Linked DNA regions of Homo sapiens: region 1 is linked to region 2. The links are contacts of gene promoters, found by promoter capture Hi-C in blood cells and fetal thymus (Javierre and others, 2016). All regions are on one chromosome and are shown on one strand. Each heading gives the region's core, a stretch centred on a gene start or on the middle of the fragment in contact. The rest is flanking DNA. Distances are from core to core; before and after follow the strand shown. Region 1 has its middle 17 kb from the start of LRRC4B. Region 2 holds the start of KLK2 (kallikrein related peptidase 2).

Region 1 (4,942 bases), core at 2,369-4,868, 290 kb after region 2:
TCTAAAAGTGAGTGCATGCTGCATGTGTGTGTGTGCATGCATGTGTGTGCATGTGTGTGCGTGTGTGGTAATAGAGTATATGCATAGTATTGTATAGTAAATGAGTAGTATTGTTTTGAGCAAGCATATGAGTGTCTTTTAACATAAATGGGATCCTACTGTACATATTGTTCTGCAGCTTGCTTTTTTAACTCAACAATATGTCTTGGAAATCTATCCAGATTTATTTAAAGAGCTTGTCCTCTTCCTTTTAAAAGCTGCAGTAGTATTCCATAGAACTCGGCGTTTCTTTGTCCGCTCTCCTCTTGCTGGACATTTGGGTTATTCTTGGTTTCTTTGCTTTTACAAACAATGTTGCTATGAACATCTTTACATGAGTTTCCTTGGAGACATGTCTAATAAGGAGAGTTAGAATTATCAAGTTATATGAATGTATTCATTTTAATTTTAATAAACAATTCCTGGAACTGTCAAGTATTTCTACATAACAAATACCAAAAACTCAGCAACTTCATGTGTTCTTGATCTAGCCAGGCTTTTCTGCTTTTTTGTTTATTTGTTTTTTGTTTTGTTTTGTTTTGAGACAGTCTCTCTCTGTCGCCCACGCTGGAGTGCAATGGCACAACCTCGGCTCACTGCAACCTCCGCCTCCCGGGTTCAAGTGATTCTCCTGCCTCAGCTTCCCAAGTAGCTGGGACTACAGGAATGCACCACCACGCCTGGCTAATTTTTGTATTTTTAGTAGAGACAGGGTTTCACTATATGTTCGCCAGGCTGGTTTTGAACTCCTGACCTCAAGTGATTCACCTGCCTTGGCCTCCCAAAGTGCTGGGATTACAGGCGTGAGCCACTGCACCCGGCCTAGCCAGACTTTTCTAGGGCTGCTCTGCTTGAAGCTGCAGGTCTGGCTGGCTCAGGTCCGCTCCAAGCATCTCATTCTGGGGCCCAGGTTGAGAGAAGGTAGGCTGCCAGGGAGAGCGTCTCGTGGTGACGGCTGGGGCACAAGCGGACTAGAGGCAGATGCAAGGCTTCTGAAAGCCTAGACTCAGACGCTGGTGCATCCACCCACATGCCATTGGCCAAAGCAAGTCAAGTCAAGTCAACTGTGCAGAGTTAAAGGGCAAGGAAGCACCCCACATACACGATGAGGCCGTGGCAAGGGTGTGGAACCATTGGTAGACATACTGATTTTCACTTTTTGTGTGTGTGTTTGTGACAGGGTATCGCTCTGTCACCCAGGCTGGAGTGCAAAGGCGCGATCTTGGCTCACTGCAGCCTCCGCCTCCCGGGTTCAGCTGCTCCTTATGCTTCAGCCTCCCGAGTTGCTGGGATTACAGGTGCCCGCCATCACACCCAGCTAATTTGGTATTTTTAGTAGAGACGGGGTTTCACCATGTTGACCAGGCTGGTCTCCAACTCCTGACCTCAGGTGATCCACCCGCCTCAGCCTCCCAAAGTTCTGGGATTACAGGCATGAGCCACTGAGCCCAGCCTGATTTTCTTTCTGCTGGTAATGGGACAGAGGACCTGTTCCCCCACATCCTCATCAGTGCTTTTTTTTTTAAGCTGAGCCTCTCTCTGTTGCCCAGGCTGGAGTGCAGCTGTGCGATCTCAGCTCGCCACAACCTCCGCCTCCTGGATTCAAGCGGTTGTCCTGCCTCAGCCTCCCAAGTAGCTGGGATTACAGGCGCTTGCCACTATGCCCAGCTAATTATTGTATTTTTAGTAGAGACGGGATTTCACCATGTTGGCCAGGCTGGTCTGGAACTCCTGACCTCAAGTGATCCGCCTGTGTTGGCCTCCCAAAGTGCTGGGATTACAGGAGTGAGCCACTGGCCCAGCCCATCTCATCAATGCTTACTACACCAGTTAACTTTGGTTTTGCCAGTCCTATGGGGGGAATATATATTGATTTCCTCTCCCTTAAGGCTATTGTCAGCCAAAACGCAGCACGAAGTAGAGGGAAAGTACCAGGTGGAAGAGCCTGTCACCGATAAGAGATCCTCCACCTCAGCCTCCTGAGCAGGCACGTATCACCACGCCTGGCTAATTTTTCTGATTCTTTGCAGAGACGGGGGTCTCCCTATGTTTCCCAGGCTGGTCTCAAACTCCTGGGCTCAAGCTATCCTCCCACCCTGGCCTTCCCAAGTGCTAAAATTATAGGTTACTCTGTCTCAAAAAAATAAAAATAATAAAATTATTAGTCAATAAGTCAGGAGTGGCTGGGTGTGGTTGCCCACGCCTGTAATCCCAGCATTTTGGGAGGCTGAGGAGGGCAGATCATTTGAGCCCAGGAGTTCGAGACCAGCCTGGGCAACATGGTGAAACCCCATAAATACAAAAATTAGCTGGGTATGGTGGTGGGCACCTGTAATCCCAGCTACTTGGGAGACGAAGGCAAGAGAATCACTTGAACCAAGGAGGTGGAGGTTGGAGTGAGCTAAGATTGCACCGCTGCACTCCAGCCTGGGTGACAGAGACTCTGTCTCAATAACAATAATAATAATAATAAAATTATTAGTCAATAAGGCAGGAGTGGCCAGAAATGGTGGCTTATGCCTATAATCCCAGCACTTTGGGAGGCCAAGGCGGCTGGATCACTTGAGCCCAGGGGGCTTGAGCCCAAGAGTTTGAGACCAGCCAGGGCAAACATGACAAAACCCCATCTCTACAAAAAAATACAAAAATAAGCTGGGCGTGGTGGCAGGCGCCTGTAGTCCCAGCTACTCAGGAGGCTGAGGTGGGAGGATTTCTTGAACTCAGGAGGTGGAAATTGCAGTGAGCTGAGATTGTGCCACTGCACTCCAGCCTGGGTGACAGAGCAAGACTCTGTCTCAAAATAATAATAATAATAATATGGCAGGGCCGGGCACAGAAGCTCACGCCTGTAATCCCAGCACTTTGGGAGGCTGAGTCAGGCAGATCATCTGAGGTCAGGAGTTTGAGACGAGTCTGGCCAACGTGGTGAAACCCCATCTCTACTAAAAATACACAAATTAGCCGGGCATGGTGGTACCGGCCTGTAGTCCCAGCTACTCTGGAGGCTGAGGCAGGAGAATCGCTTGAACCTGGGAGGCAAAGGTTGCAATGAGCTGAGATTGTGCCACTGCACTCCAGCCTGGGCAACAGAGCGAGGCTCTGTCTCTAAAAATAAAAAATAAAAATAAAAATAAATAAAATAAATAAATAACTTAGGAGTGAAATGAAAACAGGCTACAGGTAAAGCAGCATCCCCAGATCACATGTACTCCATTAACACTTAAGTTTTTTTCAGATTTGGCTATAATAAATGATTCTATGAGATACATCTCTGTGTGTATATTTTTGTCTACCTCTCTGATGACTTCCTGAATATAAGTTCCTATGAGTTGAATTGCTGGGTCATTAACAAAAGTTTTCTGCAGAAGCTAAAGCAATTTTCACATTAACTGTTTCATTTAGTTCCTTTTATAAAGCCCAAAGGCATAGCATTACAACAGCTCAGTGATTCCTTCCTCTGCCCATCAAATGAGCAACAAATGTTTTAAGCTTCTACCAAATGCTAGAGAGAGTGCAGCCAAACAGACATGCATGCTGATACTCAGTTGTCAGAAGGTAAATTGCCACAATTTTGGAAAGCAAATTGGTGAAAGGTGTCAAATACAGGAACAATGTCCATACCCTGAAAATATCCCATGCCTGGGAATTCACCTGAAAGTCAGAAGCTTACAAAGAGGTTCATGGTGATATTTTATAATAGTTTTTTTTTTTTTTTGAGATGGAGTCTTGCTCTTCTCACCCAGGCTGGAGTGCAGTGGCGTGATCTCGGCTCACTGCAACCTCGGCCTCTCAGTTTCAAGCGATTCTCCTGCCTCAGCCTCCTGAGAAGCTGGGACTACAGGCGCGTGCCACCATGCTCAGCTAATTTTTGTATTTTTAGTAGAGACAGGGTTTCGCCATCTTATCCAGGCTGGTCTCGACCTCCTGACCTCAGGTGATCCGCCCATCTTAGCCTCCCAAAGTGCTGGGATTACAGGTGTGAGCCACTGTGCCTGGCCTTTATTTTTATTTTTTATTTTTACTTCTTTTTTGAACAGAGTCTTGCTCTGTCACCCAGGCTGGATGGGTGCAGTGGTACCATCTCGGCTCACTGCAACCTCCACCTCCCGGGTTTAAGCGATTCTCCTACTTCAGCTTCCCAAGTAGCTGGGACTATAGGCACGCACCACCAAACCTGGCTAATTTTTGTATTTTTAGTGGAGACGGGGTTTTACCATGTTAGCCAGGCTGGCCTCAAACTCCTGAGCTCAACAGATCCACCCACCTCAGCCTCCCAGAGTTCTGGGGTTATAGGCATGAGCCACCATGCCAGGCCTAGTTTTTGAAAAATAAAATTACCAGAGTATCCAACTAGAAAGGAATGGTTAAATTAACCATGCTGTATCCACTCAACAGAATATTAAGTCAGGGCCTTACTCCTAAAGCATGGCCTTCCTGAGCTTTCAGCTGAGTGCCCAGGAGCTTAGTGAGGCCCTCCCACTCTGGCTGGGCTGGAGACTCATCTCCTAGCGCTGCATGACGGCTTTTATTTCTGTTCATCTCTCATCTTTGTAGCAGCTACCCCCGACTGGTACTCATGGAGTCTTGTCCTCTGCAGACACCGTCCAGTCCTTAGCCAAGGACCTATGGTGAACTACACACAGGCTTCTGGGGGCCCACCTCATGCGGCTCCCTTTTCCCCACTGCCCTATCCTGCAAATTCCAGCCTTGTCAGCAGCCCCCAGAGCCCTCTCTCTGTCTCCTCGGCTCAGTAAGACTGCTCTGGGCCAGGCACGGTGGCTCACGCCTGTAATCCCAACACTTTCGGAAGCTGAGACGGGCAGATCCCTTGAGGCCAGGAGTTCAAGACCAGTTTTGGCAACACAGCAAAACCCCGTCTCTACTAAAAATACAAAAATTATCC
Region 2 (5,239 bases), core at 989-3,488:
CAGGCGCGCAGCACCACGCCTGGCTACTTTTTGTATTTTTAGTAGAGACGGGGTTTTGCCATGTTGGCCAGGCTGGTTTCAAACTCCTGACCTCAGATGATCCACCCACCTCGGCCTCCCAAAGTGCTGGGATTACAGGCGTGGGCCACCGTGCCCGGCCACCTTCCCCTCCTTTCTTGTTTCCCCTTCTCCTTCCTCCCTCCTCAATTGTGCACCCAGCTACAGCTGAAACCAGCCCTCCCTGTGTCTCCCCAGGGTGGAGGGATGTCCTGCAGAGAGTGCTGTGCAATGACAGGCACCCCCTCACATGCACACACATTGAGCTTAAAGTCCTTCCTTTTTCTGGGTGCTCCCCACCCACCCTCACGGGGTGTGTTCAGTAGTGATGAGGAAGGGCTGAGGCAGAGACCCAGAGAGAAAGACAGGCAAAGAGATGCAGGGTGAGACACACGGTGACAGAGATGGCCACAGAGAGACCCAGAGACAGAGACGGGGGAGACACAGACACAGGGAGACAGAAAAGAGAGAGGGACATAGAGACCAAAACACAGTCATACAGACACAACCAGAGCCAGATACCAAGAGACACAGCGAGATCAGACACAGAGAGAAACCCAGGCAGCCATGGGGAGAGTGGTCCAGCCCCAGCTCTGCCTCCGGGTGCGACCTGGGCCAGGACCTTCCCTCTCTCCTTTAGTCTGAAGCCTCACCTGAGAAGTGACCCTGGGGGAAGCATCCCGCTGTTATTCCTGTGGGACACAGCCATTCCCTCCCCAGATCCCAGGGTCCTACTTACTTCTTTAGGCAATGGGCAGCTGTGAGCACCCACTGGGGGTGCACCAGGACACCCCCACAGTGTGCCCATCCATGACTGTACACAGCCACCTGCCAGGGTTGGGAATGCTTCTCACACTCCCAGCCTCCCACAATCCGAGACTGGATGAGGGGCACGGCACCTGCGGAGGGGGTGCTGGGTCAGGGGGATCAGACCCAAAAGAATTGGATAGGGGAGGGAGCTGAGCTGTGGGTTTGAAGAGACATGGGGGCAGAGGACCAGGACTGGGAGTCCAGGACACAAGCAAGGGGTCCTGGGAGGGCTGGCAATTCTGTAGCTATTCCCTGCGTTAGCGGGTTGGTGGCTGGACCAGGTCGGGAGGCTTCATGCTCTGAGAACGGAGCTGACCCCAGAGATCAGAGTAGGGGACATGGGAAACATCTGAAGCAGGCATCGGGTTGGGGGTTGGGTCATTTGGAGTGATTTGGGGTCTTACACTGGGAGAAGGGACACTGTGGTGGCAGCTGTGGGTTCTAAGAGAATAAGAGGTTCCAGAAACCAAGGATAAGTGCCCAGTGGAGAGGTTTAGTTGCTGGGAGAGGAAGGTTTTGGATGGTTTACCATGTCCAAGGTTAAGCAAACAGTTCTGCCTGAGTTGTTTCTTGCTTTGTTTTGTTTTGTTTTGTTTTTGAGGTTTTGAAAAGGGTGCGGATTTAGGGAATCAGAGAACTGGCCGTTGTGGTTGGGGGTGCTCGTGTTTTTCCCATGGAAAAAGCTAGCCATTGAATGACGGGTCTGGGGCAAAGAGTCAGGGAAGGAGGAGTTCTGAAAGTCCCAGTGCCAGACTCAGGGTGGGAGGCAGCATTTGTTGTCTCAGGCCAGATAGCCTCGGGGGGAAGAAGGAAGTGTCTGGTGGAATCTGGGTTTCCTGGGACAGGGTTGGGGAGCCAGGTGTCAAGGTCCAGGGGACAGGGTTGAATGCTCACAGCTGAATAGGAAAAGTCAGTAGACTGTGGTAGGACTGAGGGGCTCAGGAGGCAGCCCAGTGATAGGGTCCAAGGAACCAGTGGCATGGAGAGAGGTCCTTGAAAGGTTTTGAACCCCATAAAGAGAAACACAGAGATGCCCAGGAACTTGCTCTTTAGTAAAGCAGCTGGGAGCAGGGATTTGGCTGGGCAATGGAGAGAAAGGTCTGAGGTAAGTGGGAGGGAGCGGGGACCTAGTGTGGGCATGAGGACTATTGCAATGTGGAAGAGTCAGGGGCACATTGTCTGGGCTGAACTGTGGGCTGAAGGGACGAGGCTGGGGCACTGGGTGGGAGGAAAAGGGCTTCAGCATAAGAGTCAGAACCCGCCCCCCTTCCTTTATCCCCCCAATCTCACCAGTGCACCCCACAGACAAGGCGATGGAGAGAACCAGGTCCCACATGCTGACACAGGTGTCCACGGCCAGGTGGTGAGTTTGGGGCTGGGGGGCCTCCCTGAGGAGCCCTATAAAGCCTTCATTCTCCAGGACCCCGCCCTTGCCCTGTTGGCACCTAGATGCTGACCAAGGCCCTCCCCATGCTGCTGGAGGCTGGACAACCCCCTCCCACACCCAGAGCTGTGGAAGGGGAGGGAGAGCCAGCACTTGCTGTTCCACACATACTAGATCAGTCTGGAGGCATTCCCACGGTGTGAGGTCAGATTGGGCAGGGCCTATGGATCATGGAGATGTGATCTAGGGAACAAAGCCAGAGAAGGCAGGCTCAGGATGAACAGCAACAGGGGTTGGGATGATCACTGATTCTTTTTTAAAAAAATTCTGAGACAGTCTCACTCTGTTTCCCAGGCTGGAGTGCAGCGGCGTGATCGCAGCTCCCTGTAGCCTTGAACTCCCAGACTCAACCGATTCTCCTGTCTCAGCCTCCAGGATAGCTGAGACCACAAGCATGCACCACCACATCCAGCTAATTTTTAATTTTTTTGTAGAGAGAGGGTCTGGCTATGTTGCCTAGGCTGGTCTCCAACTCCTGGGCTCAAGCCATCCTCCCACTTCGGTCTCCCAAAGTGATGAGATTACAGGCGTGAGCCACCACGGCCAGCCCCAATCATTGATTTTCAATACAAAGTCTCATGTGCCTAAGTCCCAAGTACTTCCTTTGCACCCCAAACCTAATATGCCCTGAAATATCAGAATGATCGGATTGTGAGACTTCCTGGTCCCTATACCCGTCTGAGCCCAGAAGCTGGACCTCCAACTTACCATGTTCCTGAAATAGAAGCGTTGGCATTCAGTACTCTCTGATTCTTGCACTTCCACACTCAGAAAATGGTTCCCCACATACATTTCTCCCTCATCATAAAACCTTGTGATACCACATATTGTCCAATCCAGAAATATGACTCTCCCAGACCAAGTTCCCTATTATTTCAAAATCCAATGTCCACTAAACAATATGGGGTTCCGGTGGCTCCTCACTCCTCATTCTCCATGCCTGTACAACGTACAGGTACAGCGGGGATTCCTGTTGACCTGCCCTCCTAGGTCAGAATTGTCCTCATGCAAAATCCAATGCCTCCTTCTCACTGAAATGTCTAGCTATCAGGAGCCAGGTTTATACACTCCAAGATTAAGCTGCAAGCCAGGCACGGTGAGTGGCTCATGCCAGCAATCCCAGTGCTTTGGGAGTCCAAGGCTGAAGAATCACTTGAAGTCAGAAGTTCAAGATCAGCCAGGGCAACAAAGTGAGACCCTTTCTCTACAAAAAAAAAAAAAAAATTTAATTAGCCAGGTGTGGTGGCAAGCACCTGTAGCCCCATCTACTCAGGAGGCTGAAGCAGGAGGATCCCTTAAGTCCAGGAGGTCAAGGGTTCAGTGAGCTATGATCACACCACTGCGCTCCAGCCTGAGTGACAGAGCAAAAGACCCAGACTGTGTCTCAAAAAAAAAAAAAAAAAAAAAAAGAATTAGGGTGGCATTGAGAAATCTCATTTTGGTGTCTCAGAAAAGAATCAAGAATAAGAGTCCTGGTGTTAACTCTTATTATAAGAGTCCACTGTTAACTCTATAAGATTTCTTTGATTTTGAAAAAAAAAATGTGATTTCATCTGTTCAATAAAACCAGAGCAGCTTACGCTGATCCAGACCCAGCTGTGTCTCAAGAATTTGACAAAATCTTCCCCCATTTCCAGCTGAATGACCAGATCAATTCCAAGTACAGTGAAGGAGACAGAAGTGGACATAGATAATCACAATTCAAGACCAGGATAGAGGGATATTCACAGCCAGTGGCCTGATTTCCCCCACACAACCACTCGTTCCCTGGAATGACCGTCTGAAAGGAAATTTGCCTCAGCTTGAATGAGAACCACCTGAATCCAGTGTCCCAAGCATATCCTCATCCCCATGATAACCTCAACCAAAACCTGACCCAAACCAATTTAACACAGCCCAATCCAACCACATCACCCACAAGCCCAACCCATCAACCCAACACAACTTAATCTAATTCAAGACAACCCTAATAGCCTCCTTCATTTAAAGATCAAACCAAACTAATGCACATCCTCGCATGCAATAGCCAGCTCCATGTATTCTATCTCCAAAACTAAACCTACTTCATCCCCAATTCAATCCCCACACCCTTCCCAGCCAACATAAAAACAAACCTATTTCCATCCCAAAGCCATGCCATCCCAAACCACCTTTAAATTGCCAATCCCCAAACTCATCCGAAGCAGAATTTTACCCCATCTGTAACTCAACTCCAACCTGACCCTCCATTCTAACTGGTCTTCATACTCCGTTTTCAATGCTATATCCAGCACTTTATCTGGCCAAAGGAGATCAAACACAACCACATCCCACTTCTCGAGCCAGTCCACAGCCTCCTCCCCACCCGTCATGGCCCCCTCTGGGCTCTGACCACACAGGAGTCCGTGCCTTCACCCGCTCTTCCTGCACACACCATGGTGTTCATCAGGGCCCTGGGTAGTCCCTGTTACAAGATGTGGTACAGATGAAGCTGATGCTGGCACAGTGCCTCGTATCTGGGAGACTCACTTGGGAGGACAGTGGAGTGGGGCAAACCCGTAAGTTCAGGCTCCTGTGCCCTCCACCCAGAAGTCCTTGAGATTTCATGGACAGCGACATATGGCCATTCTCTAGCACCTTTCAGTCCTGGTTTCCTGTGGTTCTAGGATCTTTATCGGACACCAGGCCCCGGCCTGGCACCACGCAGGCCACATCCACCAGGGGACGCACGTCCACAGCTCCATGGTTGGGACGTGACGGGAGAGGCGCGCTGCAGGGATAGTCGCAGCTACATGACGTCATGGCGCCGGCCTCGCCCGCATAGTGCAGATGCTGAATGATGAGTGGATGATGCCCCAGGCCTCGGGACATGGCACATGTGCAGATTATACTCGCGCAGGCGCACTCTTGTGGAACTAGAAGAGTAGGTGATTACCCTCAAGTGGAGTA

The links. Contacts are between HindIII fragments. The CHiCAGO score rates a contact against its expected background, and 5 or more counts as called.
Region 1: a contact is called between a fragment that was not itself captured here and the fragment with the promoter of KLK2 in region 2, in 8 of 17 cell types (M1 macrophages, monocytes, total CD8 T cells and 5 more). The highest score is 10.0, in M1 macrophages.

Annotation. Positions count from the first base shown.
Region 1 is chr19:50,582,510-50,587,451 of GRCh38, reverse strand. No RefSeq gene overlaps it. Among named protein-coding and RNA genes, the nearest start is that of LRRC4B, 17 kb to the right of the region's middle. The HindIII fragment of the contact is 176 bases long and covers 3,531-3,706 here.
Region 2 is chr19:50,870,438-50,875,676 of GRCh38, reverse strand. It overlaps KLK2 (kallikrein related peptidase 2), which reads right to left and starts at 2,238. Exons shown (of 5, transcript NM_005551.5): 1 at 2,158-2,238; 2 at 797-956. The coding sequence starts at 2,203. RefSeq lists a cis regulatory region at 2,400-2,414, enhancers at 2,400-2,414, 4,890-5,184 and promoters at 2,213-2,566, 2,213-2,838, 2,213-5,239. The HindIII fragment of the contact is 10,018 bases long and covers 1-5,239 here.